3 separate regions of the Homo sapiens genome follow, and regions 2 and 3 are each linked to region 1. The links are contacts of gene promoters, found by promoter capture Hi-C in blood cells and fetal thymus (Javierre and others, 2016). All regions are on one chromosome and are shown on one strand. Each heading gives the region's core, a stretch centred on a gene start or on the middle of the fragment in contact. The rest is flanking DNA. Distances are from core to core; before and after follow the strand shown.

Region 1 (4,538 bases), core at 697-3,196:
GGTTCTTAACATGTGGTAAGAATGTCACTTTCTGACATGTTGACAAGCCCCAAGTTTATCTTGGAACCTCAAGAGTAGAGGATCACCCAACTCATAGATGTTTGATGGCACAAATCCTTGGCTGGCCTCAGTTTTTAAAAAGTCTCACCTGAAATTTCTTCTATGGAACTAAGTTCCATCAAAGCCAATTTAAAAGCATTTGTAAAAGAATAATTATTCTTCCTGCACTATATACAAATAATCAGGCCAAATGTAGTAAAGCAAACCAGTCCCCAAAATTAGAAGGGATCAATTAGGACCATAAAGTCATTTTACAAAAAGAATAATTACATGACTACAACACAAACTGTGAGAGTCTTCCTAAGATCAAGAACTCTTTCAGAAGGGTAAATTTTCTTTCTTTGTTCTGTCATGGTTTTAGAAGTATCTAGGTAAACTTATAGAAAGATTTCAGCATACAGCTCAAAAAATTGGAAGGGAGATTTCCTAGGTCATATATATTGTCTCTTGCAACATGAAGCTCCTACAATTACTGAAATATGGTACTTCCTGTTGAGTCAGGAAGAACAACTAAGTTGATCATGAGGTATGAAGAATCCAATGTGTCTAATAAAGAAAACCATTAAGAAGGGGAAAAATCCTATTGGACTGTTTATATTTAGATGGGTAAATATTAGCAGGGAATTCCAGAAGTCAACATGGAGAAGAACAGGCAAACTACAGACCTAAACCATAAGTGACACTAAGCAGGCAGGAGGACCAGAGACACAGGAGTGAATAGCACTGAAGGCAATGAGCTTTACATACTAGTTTGTATTGCATGCTGTCTTTTCTGCCACATAAAACTGACTCAACATTAACCATTGTTATTTGTTTACACTGTCTCTTTTCCCAAAGGAACTAATCCTCATGTACCAAGGCAGGATTACATTAAATCAACAATAAAAATATAATATTCTCATTGATTTCTTCTAGGTCACTCCAAACTATAAAGAAGGATTTGAAACCTTCATTTATCTTTTGTCATCTGTGATCAATTTCTTGCTCCAAAGCTTCCTCATGGCACTTTTCACTTCTGTATTCTTCAGCGTGTAAATCACAGGGTTGAGAAAAGATGTTCCAACTGTATAAAATACAGCTATCATCTTATCCATGGGGAATACGGTTGCAAGGCATGTGTACATAAATATGCAAGGTCCAAAGAACAAGATGACCACAATGATGTGGGAGACACATGTGGAAAGTGCTTTCTTTATCACTTCAGCACTGTGGTTTCTCAGAGAATGCAAGAAGATGACATAGGAGAATATTAGCATGACATAACTCACTGCACAAATGGCCCCACTATTGGAAACCAGGAGTAGGTTAACCACATAGGTTTCTGAACAGGCTTGTTTCAACAAGGGCTGCAAGTCACAGAAACAGTGATTGATCACATTGGGGCCACAGAATGGCAAACTCAGGGCAAGAAAAATCTGAACTAAAGAATGCACACAGGATCCCACCCAGGCCACAGCCATCAAAACACCACAGACCCACTGGCTTATGATGGTCATGTAGTGCAGGGGCTTACAGATGTCCACATAGCGGTCAACAGCCGTGAGGATGAGGATGAAGATCTCCAGGCAGCCAAAGACATGGGATGAAAAGACTTGGATCATGCACTCGCTGAAGGAGATAGTTGTCTTCTTCAAAAGGGCATCCACAATCATTCTAGGGGTTATGGAAGTAGAGAGGCAAGTATCAGATAAGGATAAGTAGAAAAGGAAGAAGAACATTGGGTTCTTAAGTGCCTGGCTGGTCTTGACACTAATAATGATTAGCAAATTACCCAACAGTGTTCCCAAGTAGAGACGCAAAAAAATAACAAACACTATTTTCTTCCAAAAAGGATCCTGTGTCAATCCAAGCAGAATGAACTCAGTCACATTATTATTCAGTTGCATGGTTTTCGTGAGTGAGGTGAAGGGGCAAGTGTGAAATGGTCTACCTGCAAAAAAAAAAGGAATTAATTTATGCTGTGCTATGTGATGTTATGGAATATTTTATGCAAAATTAAATATTTCTTATTGGATACATTCTGGTGGCGGTTTCTTAATAAGCCACTTCAACACTTTCTTCCAAATTTTAATGACCACTTCATAGGGTTATTATGATTCTCAAATATGCTTATGAACATGATACCTTGCTATAGCATTCTTCAAGTACAAGCCTTGGTTAGCTTTGGCATCATTCTGATTAATTTTTCCAATTCAAGGAAGGTAAATGTAAGAGGTAATGATCCATTTTAATATTAAATTTCATTTTATAATTTTCAATAAATACTGAGGGCCATTTTTTATGTTGTGTATCACTCAACATTTAAGATATATTTAGCTGCTCTTTGAGTTTTACAATATGAAGTCCTATGCCACCACCACCCTGTAGATAATATCTTATTAATACATAGTTTATACATTCCATATTCATTATATATATTTATATAGATGTTATTTATTAATACCTTGTATGCTCCACTTCTCTGCAAAATTTCTCCCAGATATTCCAGATTATAAAAAGTAAACGAAAACACTTATAGCCTCTAAATAATCTGTTGCTACCTTGATGTGTCCTTATAACATTTTGTCCTGACATATACTAATAAACAGGAATGAATGTTCTTTGAAAATTAGTTATCTCTTTAATATCCCCCTTTCTAATTTTCTTCCTTTAATTTATTGAAAGCATCCCTAGAACACACAGAGTTTCTGAGGTTACATTTAAATAAGATGAGGGTGGGGTACAGTATTACTACTCAACTGTTTGTTTTCACAATTCAAACTAAATATTAGAATCATGAAAACAAGAAAGCATTTTATAAGTGGGGTGGTTTGAAGTGTTATCATTGAACCAGATCATGTTTGTAATCCCCAGAAGAGTTTTCATTATCCTGATATTCAAAAACTGCACATTCCTGGAACAGAGCAGAGATTTGGAGGAAAGAAGGTGATGTGGTTTTAGAGAAGAGAGAGTAGATACTAAATACCTTCTTCATTCAATTTATTTTCTATCATGGAAAAGTCAGTGCTTCAACTTTGAAATGTCACTTTTCCCAGTGAAGATCAGTTTTTAAGAATATATGGAAACTAATATTATCACAAGGCTTCTCTTTCAAGAAAAATAAATTCTCTACATTTTTGTTGTCAAGATGACACTAGACAGTACATAATATGCAAGTAGAAATATAAACCAAAGTGTAATTTATTTAAATATAGTCTGGAAGCCCATTGTGTTTCTCCACTGTTTGAAATGCTTGTTCCCTGGTGTTATAAAAGAAATAGCTCTTGAACACAAATTGAATTTATTTAGAAAGGTCATTTTTTACTTCCTCCAGAAAGGGTACACTCGCCAGCAGTTTTGCCACGAGAGTACACCGAACAAAGGAGACAGGGTCATTTATAACCTGACAACTGCTGTGTCCGTTTTCCATTGGCTGGAACAGGACCTCATTCTGTATTTGTCCATATTGGCTAGCAACTCAGAAGTTTTTAAAAGAGGCAAAGGCAGAGGAGAAAAAGGAAGCAGGAAGTAACTTGTGGAATGCTGACAAAGGTAAAAACACTTTTAAATAAGAAAGAGGAACAGGCTATGACCTAATGCTTGCTTGGATCAGTATAAGCATGCCAGGGCAAATATTTAGGAGTGCAGGTCTTTAAACAAAATTTGCTTCGAAGAGAAGTTACTATTTATTCCTAATTAGATGGGGAGTAAAGTCTTTGAAGAGGAACTTCTACTTTTAGTTTTTACATCCACAATTCAATCAATACCTTCAAAACATTGGTGAAAGTTACAAGTTGGCCAAAACAGAATAAAATAGACAAAACAGACACAAAATTCCCTTTATATATACTTCTTCCTCTCTCCAGATTCCTCTCCTTCTTCTCCTCACCAGATTTGAAATATCCCTTATCTTCCTCCAAATAAAAAAAAAAATACTCCCAGGAAAGTGTCTGATGAAGTTGTTCACTTTGGTGTGCTAAGAATAAAAAAGTATATATGTATATCTTATATACATATATATTTTATATATATACACTTTATATACATATATATACTTTATATATATATCTTTTGACTCTTTGGACTCAGTAATATATATTTTATATATATGTATATATATATTTGGACTCTGTAATCTTTGAAATGTATCTTAAACTATAAGGGAACTGAGTTGGTATTTTAATTATTACAATAAGCTCATTTTTTCCTTTATTCATTTAAAAGGGTGATCCATTACAAAGTATTTGTACTTGAAAATGTGGTAGGCTTTGGAGGCCTGATAATGTAGAAGTAGTTTTCACCTCTAATACTTTATGACTTTGAGCACTCCTTTGAGGGTATAACCTTTGGTCTGTGGTCTGTATATCAGTAATCCTAGTAGACTATTCATTTCTAGGTAGTCTGTATTATTTACTTTATATATTGGGACATAAAGTTTTTTAGGTAAATTAAGGATTACAGATATGTAATGTAATTAATTTGGTAATAATTATAGGTCC
Region 2 (4,528 bases), core at 834-3,333, 660 kb before region 1:
AGTTTTTGCAAAGGACTATTATCATTTAAACTATAAACTAAATTTCTCCCGAAGTTATTTGGTCCATGCCCAGAGATGAGCAAAGACAGACAGCCTGTGATGATAGAAGCAAGAAGAAGTCAGTCATGGCAGATTTCTCTTACTGTCATAATTTTGCGAAGGTGGTTTCAGAATTTCAGGATTGTATAGTAATCCTGTTTTTAATGTTTCAAGGAACTTCCATACTATTTTCAATCATGGCTGCACTGTTTTATATTCTTGTCAACAGTACACCAGGGTTCCAATTTCTCCACATTCTTATCAATACTTTTTTTTTTTAAATAATGGCCATAACAGGTGTGTGATGATATCTCATTGTGGTTTTGATCTGCAATAATTAAAATCTCCATATTACCCAAAGGGGTCTTCAGATTTAATGCATTTCCTGCAAAATCCTAGTGCTGGGTTTTACAGAAATAGAAAAAACATCGTAAAAATTATGTGCAATTACAAAAGACTTCAAATAGCCAAAGGAATCTTGAGAAAGAAAAACAAAGCTAGAGGTATTATACTTTTTTATTTCAATGATATTACAAAACTACAGTAATTAAATAGCATGGGACTGGAATAAGGACAGATATATAGACCAACGGAACAGAATAGGGAGCCTGGAAACAATCCCACATGTATATAGTCAAATGATCTTTCACAAGTGTGCCAAGAATACACAATGGGAAATTAAATTGGACCCTTGTCTTATACCATATAAAATAACCAACCCAAAATGGATTAAAAATTTAAACATAAAACCTGAAACTACAATTTCTAGAAGAAAACATAAGGAAAAACTTTAGGACCTTCAGCTTGGCAGTAACTTGTTGGATGTAACATAAAAATACAAGCAATGACATAAAAAGCCAAGTAACAAAACCAAAATTAGACAAGTAGGGCTACGTCAAAGTCAAAATCTTCTGCACAATGAAGAAAACCATCAGCCAAACAAAAAATATTTGTAAATGATATATCTAATAGGGGATTAATATCAAAATATATAAATTCAATAGCCACAATAACAATAATCTTATTTTAAAACTGGCAAAGGACTTGAATACATTTTTTTTCCAAAGAAGACATACAAATGGCCTTCAGATGTATGAAAAGATGTTCAACATCAGTAGTCATCAGGGAAATTCAAATCTGACACATTTTAAACAGAAGCCAAAGAACTCTATTGATTCAATAAGTAGGAGCATGCAGTGCCTTATTCCGGAATCATTTACTTTTTATTATTAAGTAAATCATCATGGTGCTATTTTGAAACAGAAGATAATTGGGGCATATTCCCCTTGGGACATCTCCTTGGATTTCATCAACAGTCAATTACAAAGATATAAACAATCTAAGTTAGCCATATTCATAGAATACCTAAATCTGCATTTGCTGTTCCACAGGTAAGAGAAAATTTCAGATAATTTGAAGAATATTTCGGCAGCTAGAACCTACAATATCAAGAATAACTATGTTTTTTTTTACTAAACTTTTTAGCTGCTAAACACCAAGAACTAAACACTTCAGTTCTGGACTATTACATATGTGAATCAAGTGTATTCATCAAAATATGATTTATTTAGAGTTATGCCTAAGAATTAAAATCCAACACTTACTAGAAAACAATAAAAAATAGAAAATATTGTATTTGTACTTATAGAGATAAATAAGAGTGCTCCTAATAGAGTATATGCTTGTATTTTTCTTATAGATAAAGATAGTTCAAAGGTCATGAATTTACCAATAAATATCAACAAAGGGCAAAAAAACATTTGACTTATTCATTTATCTGGGGTCTTGTATTTTGAAGTAATAAGGAAAACAATCAATACTTATTTTAAATTTATTTTCTGGCTTTATAATCTAGAAGTCACTTCAGATTGCTACTTATTTTATGTTTCTCTAGATTTAATGGCTTAAAAAATACAAATACATCGAGAATCATGTTTTGCTTTACCTTTATTTCCCTGAGGTCAGCAGAGGGGTAAGAGGAAGAGTGTTCCAGTTGCAGAATGAAGCCATTTATGAGGCCATGAAAAAATGCAAAAATTTCATGTACAATGAGAGAAACCTGGGATTGAATCTTGGCTCTGGAAATTGTTAGCTATGAAAGTTGCTATAAAGGTGAAATAAGGTAATGTACAAGAAATGTCTGTTCTTGCAGCAAGTGCTAAATAAATGCCTGTTATTTAGCAAACTTAGTGTTTCGTTATTACATTCACGATATTTAAAGTTTTCTCCCTTCCATTAAAATTTGTTTCATAAAAATAGATTTGCATTAATTTAAAAAGTTGATTCTATATTATTAAATCTTCAAGAATCATAGTGATTTTCTCTTTATAACTCTGAATCTTTGACTATGTGCTAATATTAACTTAATTTTTACCCAATATAACTTATTTTGGCATCTAGTAGAAATGCCTGTCTCACAAGAAATTTGGTTGAAGTATCTTATTTGCACAAAGCAAAATTAAGACAATTGTAATGTAGAAAATGGAATCATGGTAATTTGCATGTTTATTTTTGGCATAAAATGATCAAGTAATTCACAAAACTTCTTCATTCTCCAAAGAATAATTCAGAGACATTTGAATGAGCAGATGAAAAAAATCATAACTGTTCATTGGATTTAATCTTGATAGAATGTAGAACCAACTTAATTCAGCATATTCTATAATCAAAATTATTTTACATATTATATTTTATTAATGCAATTTTCCTTCAATATTTACTCCAATCTTGTGAACAAACTATTAATGTTCTCATTCTATAGACAAGTAGATATAGCAAATCATTTTGCACAATTGCTACAAGTTCTAAAATTCTGGTATTGTATTCCAATGCTCTGTCCCCTGATACAGTCTCTTGTGTATTTGGATGCCCAAAGATTGTTTAAGCCACTCATTTTTGTGTGTTTTAATATTATTTAATATATAAACAGCTTAATACAATTCAGTGGTAAATTAACCAGTAGACCTGATGATTTTAGAAACAGAATAAGTCCAGCCAACTAATGAACGTCCATTTCTTCCATTTGATTCTGCAGTGAGTGGCATGAACACATGGCTGACCAGTTTGTCACTGTCTTCTGATTCACTACTAGAGAATTATGCACTGCTGAATATATGTCGTACAGTATATACAAGAGCACAGTTAACATCCCCTTGAGTCATGGTGTTGTTCATTCTTTTTGTCATAATATGAACTGTAACTTTATGCATATCTTCAAGTTTGTTCTAGATTTCAACATGAAGAATGTCACTGAAGTTACCTTATTTGTACTGAAGGGCTTCACAGACAATCTTGAACTGCAGACTATCTTCTTCTTCCTGTTTCTAGCAATCTACCTCTTCACTCTCATGGGAAATTTAGGACTGATTTTAGTGGTCATTAGGGATTCCCAGCTCCACAAACCCATGTACTATTTTCTGAGTATGTTGTCTTCTGTGGATGCCTGCTATTCCTCAGTTATTACCCCAAATATGTTAGTAGATTTTACGACAAAGAATAAAGTCATTTCATTCCTTGGATGTGTAGCACAGGTGTTTCTTGCTTGTAGTTTTGGAACCACAGAATGCTTTCTCTTGGCTGCAATGGCTTATGATCGCTATGTAGCCATCTACAACCCTCTCCTGTATTCAGTGAGCATGTCACCCAGAGTCTACATGCCACTCATCAATGCTTCCTATGTTGCTGGCATTTTACATGCTACTATACATACAGTGGCTACATTTAGCCTATCCTTCTGTGGAGCCAATGAAATTAGGCGTGTCTTTTGTGATATCCCTCCTCTCCTTGCTATTTCTTATTCTGACACTCACACAAACCAGCTTCTACTCTTCTACTTTGTGGGCTCTATCGAGCTGGTCACTATCCTGATTGTTCTGATCTCCTATGGTTTGATTCTGTTGGCCATTCTGAAGATGTATTCTGCTGAAGGGAGGAGAAAAGTCTTCTCCACATGTGGAGCTCACCTAACTGGAGTGTCAATTTATTATGGGACAATCCTCTTCATGTATGTGAGACCAAGTTCCAGCTATGCTTCGGACCATGACATGATAGTGTCAATATTTTACACCATTGTGATTCCCTTGCTGAATCCCGTCATCTACAGTTTGAGGAACAAAGATGTAAAAGACTCAATGAAAAAAATGTTTGGGAAAAATCAGGTTATCAATAAAGTATATTTTCATACTAAAAAATAAATTATAAAAGGTGAGGGTGATACTCTGCACCTCAATACCAAGAATGTGTCATTGTGGTGTTATGATATATGTTGGTTTCCATCCAGGGTTCCTGGCTCATAATTCCCATAGCCTTTGTTACAGTCTTTTGTTATAATGTTGGGTGTTATACCTCAGGGGCAGGCCTTTTACCTTCTCCTGCCCTCCTTTCACTTGCACCAAGGCTGGGTTCCAATGTCTGCCTTACTGATTGTGAATCTTAAGACTCTCCCATGAGAGAGTCCCACCCTATACCTTCGGGGAGGGAATGCTGATGC
Region 3 (4,401 bases), core at 32-2,531, 690 kb after region 1:
TCTTAGAATCTGCAAAGAGATATTTCATAGAGACTGAGGGCTATGGTGAAAAGGAAATATCTTCAGATAAAAACTGGAAAGAAGCTTAATGAGAAACTGGTTTGGGATGTGTGCATTCACAACACAGAGTTAAAATTTTATTTTTATTCAGCAGTTTGGAAACTGTTTTCTTAGCATCTGTGAAAACATATTTGGTAGCGCATTGAGGGCTATGGTGAATCGGCAATATCTTCAGTTAAAAACTAAAAAGAAGCTTTATAAGAAACTGATTTCTGATGTGTTCTTTCATCTCACAGAGTTAAACCTTTCTTCGAATTCAGCAGTTTTAGAACACTGTTTTTGTGCATTCTGCAAATGGACAATTGGGAGCTCATTGAGGCCAAAGATGAAAAAGCTAATATCCCAGGATAAAAACTAGAAGGAAGCTGTCTGAGAAACTGATTTGTGATGTGTGCATTCATCTCGCAGAGTTAAACTTTTCTTTTCATTCAGCAGTTTGGAAATACTCTTTTTGTAGAAACTGCAAAATGATATTTGTCAGTGCAATGAGGCCTATGGTGAAAAAGGAAATATCTTCAGATAAAACCTAGCAAGAAGCTTTCTGAGAAACTACTTTGTGATGTGTTCATTCATCTCACAGAGTTAAACCTTTCTTTTGATACAGCAGTTTGGGAACACTGTTTTTGTCTATTCTGGGAATGGACATTTGGGAGCTCATTGAGGCCAATGGCAAAAAAGCGAATATCCTAAGATAAAAAGTAGAAGTAAGTTATCTGAGAATACGATTAGTGATGTGTGCATTCTTCTCACAGAGTTAAAACTTTCTTTTCATTCTGCAGTTTGGAAACACTGTTTGCCTAGCATCTGCGAAGAGATATTTGGTAGCCCATTGAGGCCTATGGTGAAAAAGGAAATATCTTCAGATAAAAACTAGAAAGAAGCTTAATTAGAAATTGCTTTGGGATGTGTGCATTTATCTCACAGAGTTAAACCTTTCTTTGGATTCTGCACTTTGGCGACACTGTTTTTGTCCATTCTGCAAATGTACATTAGGGAGCTCATTGAGGCCAATGGCGAAAAAGCAAATATCCCAGGATAAAAAGTAGAAGGAAGCTATCTTAGAAACTGCTTTGTGATATGTGAATTCATCTCTGAGAGTTAAAGCATCCTTTACTTCAACAGTTTGGGAACATTGTTTTTGTAGAATCTTTGAAGGTATATTTTGGAGAGCACATTGGACTATGGTGAAAAAGGATATATCTTCAGATAAAACCTACAAAGAATCTTTCTGATAAACTGCTTTGTGATGTGTGCATTCATCTAAAGGAGTTCAACATTTCAGTGGATTAAGCAGTTTGCAAACAATGTTTCTGTGCACTCAGAAATTGAACATTTTAAGCTCATCGAGGCCAATGGCAAAAAGCATATATCCCAGGATGAAACTAGAGGGAAGCTATTTGAGAAACTGCTTTGTGATTTGTGCATTCGTCTCATAGAGTTAAAATTTTATTTTCTTTCAGGACTTTGGAAACAGTGTTTTTGTAGATTCTGCAGAGGGATATCTGGGAGCACATGGAGGCCTACAGTTAAAAAGGAAATATTTTCAGATAAAAAATAGAAAGAAGCTTTCTGAGAAATTGAATTTTGATGTGTATTCATCTCACAGAGTTCAAACTTTCTGTGGGTTCAGTAGGTTGCATTCACTGCTTTTGTCTGTTCTGTGAATGGACATTTGAGAGTTATTTCAGATCAAAGGCAAAAAAAGCGAATATCCCAGAATAAAATCTAGAGGGAAGCTACTTAAGAAACTGCTTTGTGATGTGTGCATTCATCTCACACAGATAAAACTTTCTTTTCATTCGGCAGTCCAGAAACACTGTTTTGACAGAATCTGTGAAGGAATATTTAGGTGCGCAATGAGGCCTATGGTGAAAAGGAAATATCTTCAGATAACAAATAGAAAGAAGCTCTCTGAGAAACTGCATTGTGATGTGTGCATTAATCTCACAGAGTTAAACCTTTCTTTGTATTCAGCAGTTTGAAAACATTGTTGTTGTAGAATCTGCAAAGGGATATTTGGGAGCTAATTGAGGCCAATGGTGAAAAATCAAATATCCCAGGAAAAAAACTAGAAGAAATCAATCTGAGAAACTGCTTTGTGATGTGTGCATTCATCTAGCAGAGTTAAACCTTTCTTTTCATTCAGCAGTTTGGAAACACTGTTTTAGTAGAATCTGCGAAGGGATATCTGGGAGTGCATTGAGGCCAATGATGAAAAAGGAAATATCTTCAGATAAAAACTAGAAAGAATGTTTCTGAGAAACTACTTTGTGATGTGTGCCTTCATCTCACAGAGTTAAACCTTTCTTTCCATTCAGCAGTTTGAAAACACCGGTGTTTTAAAATCTGCAAAGGAAAATTTGGAAGCTTAATGGGGCCAAAGGAGAGAAATGGACTATCCCAGAGTAAAAACTAGAAGGAAGATATTTGAGAAATCGCTTGGTGATGTGAACATTCTTCTATCAGAATTGAAACATTCTTTTCATTCACCAGTTTGGTAACGTTGCTTTTCTTCAATCTGCAAAGGTATATATTGGAGTACATAGAGGCCTACAGTGAAAAAAGGAGATATCTTCAGATAAAAACTACAAAGAATCTTTCTGAGAAACTGCTTTGTGATCTGTGCATTCATCTCACAGAGTTCAACTTTTCTATGGATTAAGCAGTTTGCAAAAACTGTTTTTGTCCATTCTAAAAATGGATATTTTGAAGTTCATTGAAGCCAATGGCAAAAACGCAAATATCCCAGGATAAAAACTAGAGGGAAGCTATTTGAGAAGCCGCTTTGTGATATGTGCATTCATCTCTCAGAGTTAAACCTTTCTTTTCATTCAGGACTTTTGAAACACTTTTTTTTGAAGAATCTGAAAAGGAATATCTGGGAGTGTTTTGAGGCCTATGGTGAAAAAAAAATCTTCGGATAAAAAACTGAAAGACACTTTCTGAGAAACTGCATTGTGTTGTGTCCATTTATCTCACAGGGTTCAAATTTTCTGTGATTCAGTAGTTTGCAAACACTTTTTTTGTCCGTTCTGTGAATGGACATTTGGGAATTATTTCAGATCAATGGGGAAAAAGTGAATATCCCATGATAAATTCTAGAAGGGAGTTATTTGAGAAACTGCTTTGTGATGTGTGCATTGATCTCACAGAGATAAAATTTTCTTTAAATTCAGCAGTCTGGAAAGAGTATTTTGGCAGAATGGATGAAGGGATATTTGGGAGCTCCTTCTGGCCTATGGTGAAAAATGACATATCTTCAGATAAAAACAAGAAAGTAGCTTTCAGAGAAACTGCTTTGTTATGTGGGCATTCATCTCACAGAGTTAAACCTTTCTTTTCTTTTTTTCTTTTCCTTTTTGATTATGCTTTATGTTTTAGGGCACATGGGCACAAGGTGCAGGTTTGTCACATATGTATACATGTGCCCTGTTGGTGTGCTGCACCCATTAACTCTTCATTTAACATTAGGTATATCTCCTAATGCTATCCCTCCCCCCTCCACAACCATAGGTGGGAATTGAACAACGAGAACACATGGAAACAGGAAGGGGAACATAAACCTTTCTTTTCATTCAGCAGTTTGGAGACACTGTTTTTGTAGAATCTGTGAAGAGATATCTGGGAGCAAATTGAGGTCTATGGTGAAAAAGGAAACGTCTTCACATAAACACTAGATGGAAGCTTTCTGAGAAACTGCTTTGTGATTTGTACATTCAACTCACAGAGTTAAACCTTTCTGTGGATTCAGCAGTTAGTAAACACTGTTTGGTCCATTCTGCGAATGGATATTTGGGAGCTCATTGAGGTCAATGGCAAAAAAAGCGAATATCCCAAGATAAAAACTAGAAGGAAGCTATATGAGAAACCGCTTTCTGATGTATGTGTTCATCTCACAGAGCTAAACCTCGCTTTTATTGAGCCGTTTGGAAACACTGTATGCATAGAATCTGAAAGGGATAACTGGGAGTACCTTAAGGCCTATGGTGAAAAAGGAAATAGCTTCAGAAAAAAACTAGAAAGAAGCTTTCTCAGAAACTGCTTTGTGCTGTGTCCATTCATCTCACAGATTTAAACCTTTCTTTGGATTCAACAATTTGGAATCACTGTTGTTGTAGAATGTGCAAAAGGACATTTGGGAGCTCATTTAGGCCAATGGTGACAAAGAGAACATCCCAGGATAAAAACTGGAAGAAAGCTATTTGAGAAACCACATTGTGATGTGTGCATCCATCTCGCAGAGTTAAATCTTTCTTTTCATTCAGCAGTTTGAAAACAGTGTTTTTGTAGAATCTGTGAAGGGATGTCTGGGAGTGCATTGAGGCCTAAGGTGAAAAAGGA

The links. Contacts are between HindIII fragments. The CHiCAGO score rates a contact against its expected background, and 5 or more counts as called.
Region 2: the fragment with the promoter of OR5T2 here is called in contact with the fragment with the promoter of OR4C16 in region 1 in 5 of 17 cell types (monocytes, naive CD8 T cells, neutrophils and 2 more); the score reaches 5.9 in monocytes.
Region 3: a contact is called between a fragment that was not itself captured here and the fragment with the promoter of OR4C16 in region 1, in 1 of 17 cell types (M0 macrophages). The highest score is 5.2, in M0 macrophages.

What each region holds. Positions count from the first base shown.
Region 1 is chr11:55,569,536-55,574,073 of GRCh38, reverse strand. It overlaps OR4C16 (olfactory receptor family 4 subfamily C member 16), which reads right to left and starts at 1,946. Exons shown (of 1, transcript NM_001004701.2): 1 at 1,014-1,946. The coding sequence starts at 1,946. The coding sequence ends at 1,014. The HindIII fragment of the contact is 18,539 bases long and covers 1,055-4,538 here.
Region 2 is chr11:56,231,810-56,236,337 of GRCh38, reverse strand. It overlaps OR5T2 (olfactory receptor family 5 subfamily T member 2), which reads left to right and starts at 2,083. Exons shown (of 2, transcript NM_001004746.4): 1 at 2,083-2,161; 2 at 3,074-4,528. The coding sequence starts at 3,276. The coding sequence ends at 4,232. The HindIII fragment of the contact is 5,726 bases long and covers 1-4,528 here.
Region 3 is chr11:54,876,007-54,880,407 of GRCh38, reverse strand. No RefSeq gene overlaps it. Among named protein-coding and RNA genes, the nearest start is that of OR4A5, 170 kb to the right of the region's middle. The HindIII fragment of the contact is 684 bases long and covers 940-1,623 here.